3 separate regions of the Homo sapiens genome follow, and regions 1 and 3 are each linked to region 2. The links are contacts of gene promoters, found by promoter capture Hi-C in human tissues and cell types (Jung and others, 2019). All regions are on one chromosome and are shown on one strand. The core of a region is centred on a gene start or on the middle of the fragment in contact, and the rest is flanking DNA. Distances in the headings are between cores, read along the strand shown. Region 1 holds the start of OR2T33 (olfactory receptor family 2 subfamily T member 33). Region 2 holds the start of OR2M7 (olfactory receptor family 2 subfamily M member 7). Region 3 has its middle 3.3 kb from the start of OR2T4.

Region 1 (2,700 bases), core at 201-2,700, 45 kb after region 2:
CTACAATTTACCTGTATGACAAATTTGCACATATACCCCAAAAACTAGAAATTAAAAAACATACTAAACGAAAGGGTTCAGGGAGCTTCTGTGTCAGCAAACACATTTACATACCCTGAGAGTGGCACACCCCAAGTCCACAGAGATGTTACCAAACGAAACTCAAGTCAGCCTGCCTGATACAGCAAAGTCAAATGCCGACATGCAGATTGCCGCAAAAGAAAAGGAGGAATTTATTACAGGGGGCCAAGCAAGGAGAAGTGGGCAGCTAATGCTTAAGATCTGAACTCTCTGATGGATGGCTTACAGGTAAGTTTTTAAAGGCAGGGAGACAGAGGTTACAGGCAAAGTCATAAATCAGTATATTGACATTATATATGGGCTTAACCTGAAAATATGGGACATCTCAAAGTCAGGGCCCACACATCTTAGGTAGAGTCAAACATTTTCTGATTTGTGATTGGTTAACGAGGCAAAGTTTTGTCTAAAAAATTGGAATCAGCAGAAAAGAATTTTAGCTCTCATCCATGGGTGTGACTTCCTCCAGGCCTCTCAGGAAGAAATTCAGAAGAAAAAGTGGTGGTCTGAGTTCTGTCCTCAGTTCCTCCTTATCTGAGGTCTATGTGCCAGTAGATCTATTTAGTGGGGTTCCAGGTTTCTGAAAAACAACTCATGAACATATGGAAAGATGTTATTTTAGTTTTTATAATGGAACTAAACATTCTGTGATTTTTAACTTCCTTGGCTATTGCATTAGGCAATTATTACCTTCTTACTTATGAAGTTGCTTGTTTATTTCTCAGTACTAGCTAGGTGCCTGGAATTTCCCTGAAGGAACTTAAGCTTTTCCTTTATCTCTGTACTTGGAGGAACTTGCAGGTCACTAAGAGGGGTCCCCGCTTCATCTCATGCCCCATTACCCAACTTCTGGGGAGGTGGGGGCTGTAGATTGAGTCAATTACCAATAGCCACATTAATGTCTATATAATGAAACCACCATAAAACCCATAATGAAAGGGTTCAGGGAGCTTCTGAGTTGGCAAACACATTTACTTGCCCAGAGGATTGCAGACCCCAACTCCACAGACAGGAGCTCGCGGGCTTGGGATTCTTCTGGAACTTCCCAGATGTACCTCTTCATCTGACTCTTCATTTGTATCCCTTATAATAAACTATAATAGTGAGTGTAGCATTTTCTTTATTTTCATGCTTCATTCTAGCCAGTTATATAACCTGAAGCAGAGTGGTTGTGAGAACCTCCAACTTTGTATCCAAATCAGGTAGAAGTAACCTGGATACCCCCTACTTGAGACTGACGTCTGAAGGGAAGGCAGTCTTGTGGGATTGATTTCTGCGACATCTGGAGTCTGATGCTCCAGACTGCAGTAAGTGTCAGGACTAAATTAAATAGTAAGACACTTAGTTGGTGTGAGAGTTGGAGAAGTAGTATTGGAAAAGACACTGTGAATTTGATTTCAAAAGAAAAAAAAGTTTCGCTATTTTTGTTTTGTTTCCAATTATTATAAAACTGGTTTATGTCTTACTTGGCACGGACAGAAATTCTTTACATGTCTGCTTGACATAACAACGTCACAGATTCTGGACCGTAATTTATGGTAAATGGCAAATCAAACACAGAAGCATTCACCCAGAGCACTAAATAGTCTTTGGGCAGAACTATTAAACACCAAAAGAACAGGCTACCCTGTCCTTATCTTATTTTCTTTTAGATAAGTTTTTATAATATTTAGACCAGAATCAACATTACTCTGCCTTAGAGGGATTTTTTTTTCTTTCAGAACAATCACAATAATGATATCAATGAACATGGATAGAGAATATACTATGGGCCAGATAGTCTCCCAGGTGGTTTACAAGTATTTTATTTATTCCTTTCAATAATGCTACAAAGCAAGCAATTTTATTATGCATCTTTTATAGGAAAGGAACATGAAGATCATGTTATCCAAAAATCATGAAATGGGTAAGGAATAGAAGCTAGATTCAAAACAAAACACAAAAACATTTAAACATTTAAACATGCAAAGTTGGGAATTGATTAGTTTATAGGCTATCAAAGCATTGTGACCCAGTTCAAAATAGTTGAAATTCCCCTTCAGATTTTTTTATAAAAGGCAGTATTTCTCAAAGTGTAATCCATAAGTATTCTGAATGATTCAGATGTTCCTCAACCTTTAAGAACCACAAATCTATGATGTGAACATCAAAGTTCTTTCACTCTGCTACCTCATGACAGTTAATATAAATATGGTATTTAAAACCGTTAGCATTGTTTACATTGCTATATTAATGTAGAAGTTCACAGAACAAACAGCTAATTAAAAGATTAAATAACACGCATGTAAATGCATGTAAAATGCCGAGCATATTCACTAGCATGTAGAAATGTTCAATAAATGAAATATATTATTATTATCATGATACAATTACAGAAAATTAAAAACTTATTTCAGGTAATTAAGTCATATTTATTCAGTTCAGGGATTGTCAATGATCAGAATTCTGGATTTTGTCTTTACTAATTCATTGCACTTGCTATCCTTAGCCAGGGACATATCTGTTCATCTTCCCAATCACAGTCGTTTTGCTTTTACCAAAACTTGGATGCTAAATTAGTTCACTACATATATTCACCCTTAGGAAATACTGAAATCTGTATTCCCTTGCCAAAGGTGATTT
Region 2 (2,700 bases), core at 131-2,630:
AGTCTTTGCCAAAAGCCATTAGATGTGTGAGGTTTCCCTTGACTACTTTATTCAAAGGTGAACATACTAGTGCATTTCTAACACCCTTCTTTGACTTACTTTTCTCCAAAATGTTTATCCTCTTATGACATAAAGTGTTTTATAATCATCATCTGATCACACTCACTATGACCTGTATGGACACGGGCTTTCTTTATTCTGGTCACTGTGGTAGCCCCAGTGATCAACACATAGCCAGGCTTCATAAATGTTGTTGAAAGGATGAATCTCATGCTTTTCTTAATTTCTGTTTTTATATCTACTTATTTTCTATAGGATATATTGGATGTATTAATTTCCTACGAATGCCAGTACAGAGAAATCACAAACAGGTTACCTAAAACAATAGAAATTTATTCTCTCATAGTTTTGGAGTCTAGAAATCTGAAATCAAGTTGTCAGCAGGGTTGGACACTTCTGAGGGCTCTAAGAGGATGAATCTGTCCCATTCCTCTCTCCCAGGTTCCTGTTATAACTAACAGTTTTTGGCATTTCTTGATTTGTAGATGCACCACTCCAATCCCTGCCTCCCCTATCACATGGTATCCTCAGTGTCTCAGTCTTCACATGGCCACCCACTTATCAGAACATGAGTCATATTGAATTAGAGAGACCCACTCTGCTCCAACTTGACCTCACCTTAACTAATTATACCCTTTATGTATTTCTAAACAAGCTCACTTGCTATCTTTTGGGGAAGAAACATAATTCAATGCATCACACTGGGCTATAGAAAAAAGAGCATATGTCTTAGATTTGTATAATTGAAAATCTTTTCAGTGAATCCACTTACTGTATAGAAAACTTACTATAAAGTATAGATAAAATACTTTAAACTGTAAAGTAATAGGTAAACATACACATTTTCTTAACTCTGGTAGGAAAAATGCCTACTATCATGTGAATAAAGGCACAAATTTATTGTCCATTTCTAGTATTGTGTTGGTCACATGGTGACTGAACCTGAATTTCTCTATCAATTTACCTGTAACAGGCTTCTGATGTTTTAGGAACTGTTTGCTTTGGAGACATATTCTTTTTGGAAAAACTCCATTGATCATGTAGTAGATATTGTTATTGTAATTTTTCAATGGAGAAAAAGAATGCTTAGAAGAAAAGTTAGGACAAGCTCCATAATTTTATAAGTGAGACACTGCTGAGAGAACATATTTCTTTATGATTCCATAATTCTTAAACTTTGAGTTTTATAATTCTGGCCATCCTGTATTGATCACCAAACTACAGAATTTACCATAATCACATGCTTTATAAGGCACTGGGTAAATGTTTATCAAATTAATGAACTGTTTTTGCGGTGCTAGGTAACAGGCATATTCATCATGGCATGGGAGAATCAGACCTTCAACTCTGACTTCCTCCTCCTGGGAATCTTCAATCATAGCCCCACCCACACCTTCCTCTTCTTTCTGGTCCTGGCCATCTTTTCAGTGGCCTTCATGGGAAACTCCATCATGGTTCTCCTCATCTACCTGGATACCCAGCTCCACACCCCCATGTACTTCCTCCTCAGCCAACTGTCCCTCATGGACCTCATGCTCATCTGCACCACTGTACCCAAGATGGCCTTCAACTACTTGTCTGGCAGCAAGTCCATTTCTATGGCTGGCTGTGCCACACAAATTTTCTTCTATATATCATTGCTTGGCTCCGAATGCTTTCTGTTGGCTGTTATGTCTTATGACCGCTACACTGCCATTTGCCACCCTCTAAGATACACCAATCTCATGAGACCCAAAATTTGTGGACTTATGACTGCCTTCTCCTGGATCCTGGGCTCTACAGATGGAATCATTGATGCTGTAGCGACATTTTCCTTCTCCTACTGTGGGTCTCGGGAAATAGCCCACTTCTGCTGTGACTTCCCTTCCCTACTAATCCTCTCATGCAATGACACATCAATATTTGAAGAGGTTATTTTCATCTGCTGTATAGTAATGCTTGTTTTCCCTGTTGCAATCATCATCACTTCCTATGCTCGAGTTATTCTGGCTGTCATTCACATGGGATCTGGAGAGGGACGTCGCAAAGCTTTTACTACTTGTTCCTCTCACCTCATGGTGGTGGGAATGTACTATGGAGCAGGTTTGTTCATGTGCATTCAGCCCACATCTCATCATTCTCCTATGCAGGACAAGATGGTGTCTGTATTCTACACCATCGTCACTCCCATGCTGAATCCTCTCATTTATAGCCTCCGCAACAAGGAAGTGACCAGAGCATTAATGAAAATCTTAGGAAAGGGCAAGTCTGGAGATTGAGTTACCTCATAAATTTCATGTTTTGCTGTCTGCTAACGTCTTCTTTTTATTGTCTCTCTTTTTCTATTAAGTCCTAAAAATATCACTAATTGTGTGCATTGCTCAACATATTGATGGGTACCAGTATAATTTATTTCAGATAAACTATTTTAGATTTTTTAATATTCAATTCAGTTATGACTACAATATAAGGCATTTTCAATAAAGACATTCCATTTTTATTTTTAAATTTCATTATCATTTTGGGAAACACATAGTGTTTGGTTACATTAATAAGTTCTTTAATGGTGATTTCTGAGATTTTAGTGCAGCGATCAACCAAGCAGTGTTCGCTGTACCTAATGTGTAGTCTTTTAGCCCTCTCCAGTCCCCAACATTTCTT
Region 3 (2,700 bases), core at 182-2,681, 34 kb before region 2:
AGTGAATGGAGGGAGACCAAGAGGGCAGTGCGGGATGGGAGGTGGATGCTGGGCAAATCTCTGCTGCACTTTTGTAAATGGAAGTCCCTGTCATTAAGCCACGCTGAACAGCTGACCTGGGACACCAGATCAGTGAGGGAAAACTGTGACTGCAGCATGCAGCACAACTGGACTTTTTCTTTCTTTTATTTTTCTTGATCACATTGCTTGAGTTTCCAAACAGCACAATGCATGTTTAACCCAGGGAATAATTAATAGTGGTGGTAGGGCAATATTGAGCATTTATGTGAAGCTTACAGTATCCTAGGAATTGTTCTTAATGCCAGTTTACCACATTTAATTTTCCTCAAGAACCTATGAGGTATATAATCTAATTTCACCATTTACAGATTTAAAAGTTCAAGTTCTGGGGTATCTATCTAACATCACACAGCTAACCCCATGGAGTAAGTACATCGGTGCAGGTGCGGGACCCAGAGCATGTCACTTACCTCAGTTCTCTTGGGGACACAGTCCTGCTTCCGTAGACTAAAATTTGGGTTTTAGATAACTCACTATTGGTTTCACCAGGGAAACATAAATATGATTGAAACATTTGTTGCTAGTGTTTTCTAACTCTAAGACCTAATTTCCATTCAAAGAAAAATTAGTTGTTTTTCCTCTGCAAAATTTTCATCCCACTAAAACAAATGTATCATTCAATAACAGAGGAAGAATATATATGATTTTGTCCATAAATACTTTGGAAATGAAAAACCCGTTTACTAATATGTTGCAGTAAATAAGTATTATATAAAATGAGACTCAAAGGAAAAATAAAACAGATTGGCTTTTCTCCATAAAAATAGATGATAGAGGGAAATGAGGAAATACAGTCAAGAACTAATAGAAATGTTTCAAAAGCAGAACAAGTCAAGAACCGTGACCATCTTTTGTTCCTGCAATACTGTCTACCTATCTGGTGTAACTCACCATCAGATGATGTCTTGACCCTCATTTGGAGGGGCTCATGGTGTGTGGCTGGCTTAAGTGTGCAAAGAAAAACAAAAGTGACATCATCCCTGGCTTCACTGTGTCCATTAGGGGTGTAGATAAAAGTTTTCTGTTAATAAGTCCTCTCTGGGGTTTTGAAGACGAATGCAAATAAAGGAGCTAAAGAAGCTAATAGATATCTCTGTTGCCCTTTTCTGATTTTCTTCTCATTTTTTTTTAAGCGACAGAATCTTACTATGTTGCCCAGGCTGGAGTGCAGTAGATTTTTACAGGTGAGATCACAGTGCACAAAGGCCTCGACCTCCTGGCCTCAAGTGAACCCCCTCCACATCACTCTCCTGAATAGCTGGTACTACAGACACACACCACTGTGCCCAGCTGTTTTGTTGTTGTTATTTAATCTTCTTTTATTGTTAAACTGAAAATCTCAACAAATATTAACAATAATCTCAAAGTTAGCCATTACTAATGAATTTTTACCTATGATATATGAGTTAGTTATATATGGCCTTTTGTGTTTTACACAATATTTTCATGTGTATGTGCCTCCTCCTTTAAACTTTAGGAAATTTTTATAAAATATTGCTATTTGTGTTCCAATCTTTCACAAATATAGGCTTTGAAACTCAGAGTTCAGTTGATGTGTCAAAGAGAGTATCGCTGATCAGTAATGAACTCCATACTAAAATTGAGGTTGTCTTTTTCACATCTTCATTGCTATCACTCTTCATTAGCTTGTTATGTTCTTTCTTCTGTTATTCACCTGCAAGCTCTGTTACTTTAGTGATGCATTTAATTTTAAAGTTTGTTTTTATTTTAAATATTGATATGACTAAAAAATCTAAAATCACAGTCTAGTACAAATAAAATTTAAAAATCAACCATAATGTAATAGTTCAGATAGAAACAAAACTTTAAAATTCATGTCTTGACTTCATACTATGAATATTTATGAAGTGTACACCATGTAGCAGACAGTTGGAATAAAATAGGTAACTAGGTGGAAGCAACTCCACCCTCTTGGATCTTGCAGACAAGTATTTCTGAACCGTTTTCTGTGCGTGTGTTCTAGAATGATGTTGATCATGTTACCATGTCACGGAAGTCTTTTCATGAAAACGTTTGTCCAGATGGTGTCTGTCTTCTGTTTGTTGGGCCCACACTTTAGGGCTGGTGTCTCCGCTGACTTCTAGGGCTTCAGCCCGCAGAGAGCTTGTCCTGACTCCTGTGCTACCTGGTTTCCTGTAAGGCTATGAGAGGGCAGGCCCTGGTGGAACACTGGAGAGCAGGAGAAAGAAGGAAACTGTGTCTTATTTCCTGCTTCTGGTGATGATCTGTGGCGGCAGCAGCAGCAACTGCAGGCAGCAGGGGTCCTGAGGGAGTTGTGGGCTTACAGTCAGTTTCAGCTGCATTTGTGGGGATGCAGGGCATCTAAGTTGCCGCATATCAGCATGGGAAAGTCACACAAGCAGCCCTGGGCGTGCGGTCTCCATCAGCTCAGCACTGAGGAGCATATGAGGCGCCACTGGTGACAACTCCTGGTCTGTGAGTGATAACACTCGGCTCCTTGCTGCATCAGCCTTCCCTCCAGCCCTTTGTGCCACCCTGTAACCACTTTTGTACATTAAATCTATTCTATTTAAAATAGGTTAAGTGTATATATGTGACTAGACATTGATATCCTATCAAATTAATTATACCACAATT

Evidence for each region. The method cuts DNA at HindIII sites, captures the fragments that hold promoters and counts their contacts. A contact is called where the count stands out against the background at its distance.
Region 1: a contact is called between a fragment that was not itself captured here and the fragment with the promoter of OR2M7 in region 2, in 3 of the 25 tissues and cell types used here (neural progenitor cells, ovary and stomach).
Region 3: a fragment that was not itself captured here is called in contact with the fragment with the promoter of OR2M7 in region 2 in 3 of the 25 tissues and cell types used here (aorta, heart left ventricle and thymus).

Annotation. Positions count from the first base shown.
Region 1 is chr1:248,277,974-248,280,673 of GRCh38, reverse strand. It overlaps OR2T33 (olfactory receptor family 2 subfamily T member 33), which reads left to right and starts at 2,698. Exons shown (of 2, transcript NM_001004695.2): 1 at 2,698-2,700. The HindIII fragment of the contact is 7,061 bases long and covers 1-2,700 here.
Region 2 is chr1:248,323,248-248,325,947 of GRCh38, reverse strand. OR2M7 (olfactory receptor family 2 subfamily M member 7) reads left to right here and starts at 1,380. Exons shown (of 1, transcript NM_001004691.1): 1 at 1,380-2,318. The coding sequence starts at 1,380. The coding sequence ends at 2,318. The HindIII fragment of the contact is 10,500 bases long and covers 1-2,700 here.
Region 3 is chr1:248,356,996-248,359,695 of GRCh38, reverse strand. No RefSeq gene overlaps it. Among named protein-coding and RNA genes, the nearest start is that of OR2T4, 3.3 kb to the left of the region's middle. The HindIII fragment of the contact is 5,419 bases long and covers 1-2,700 here.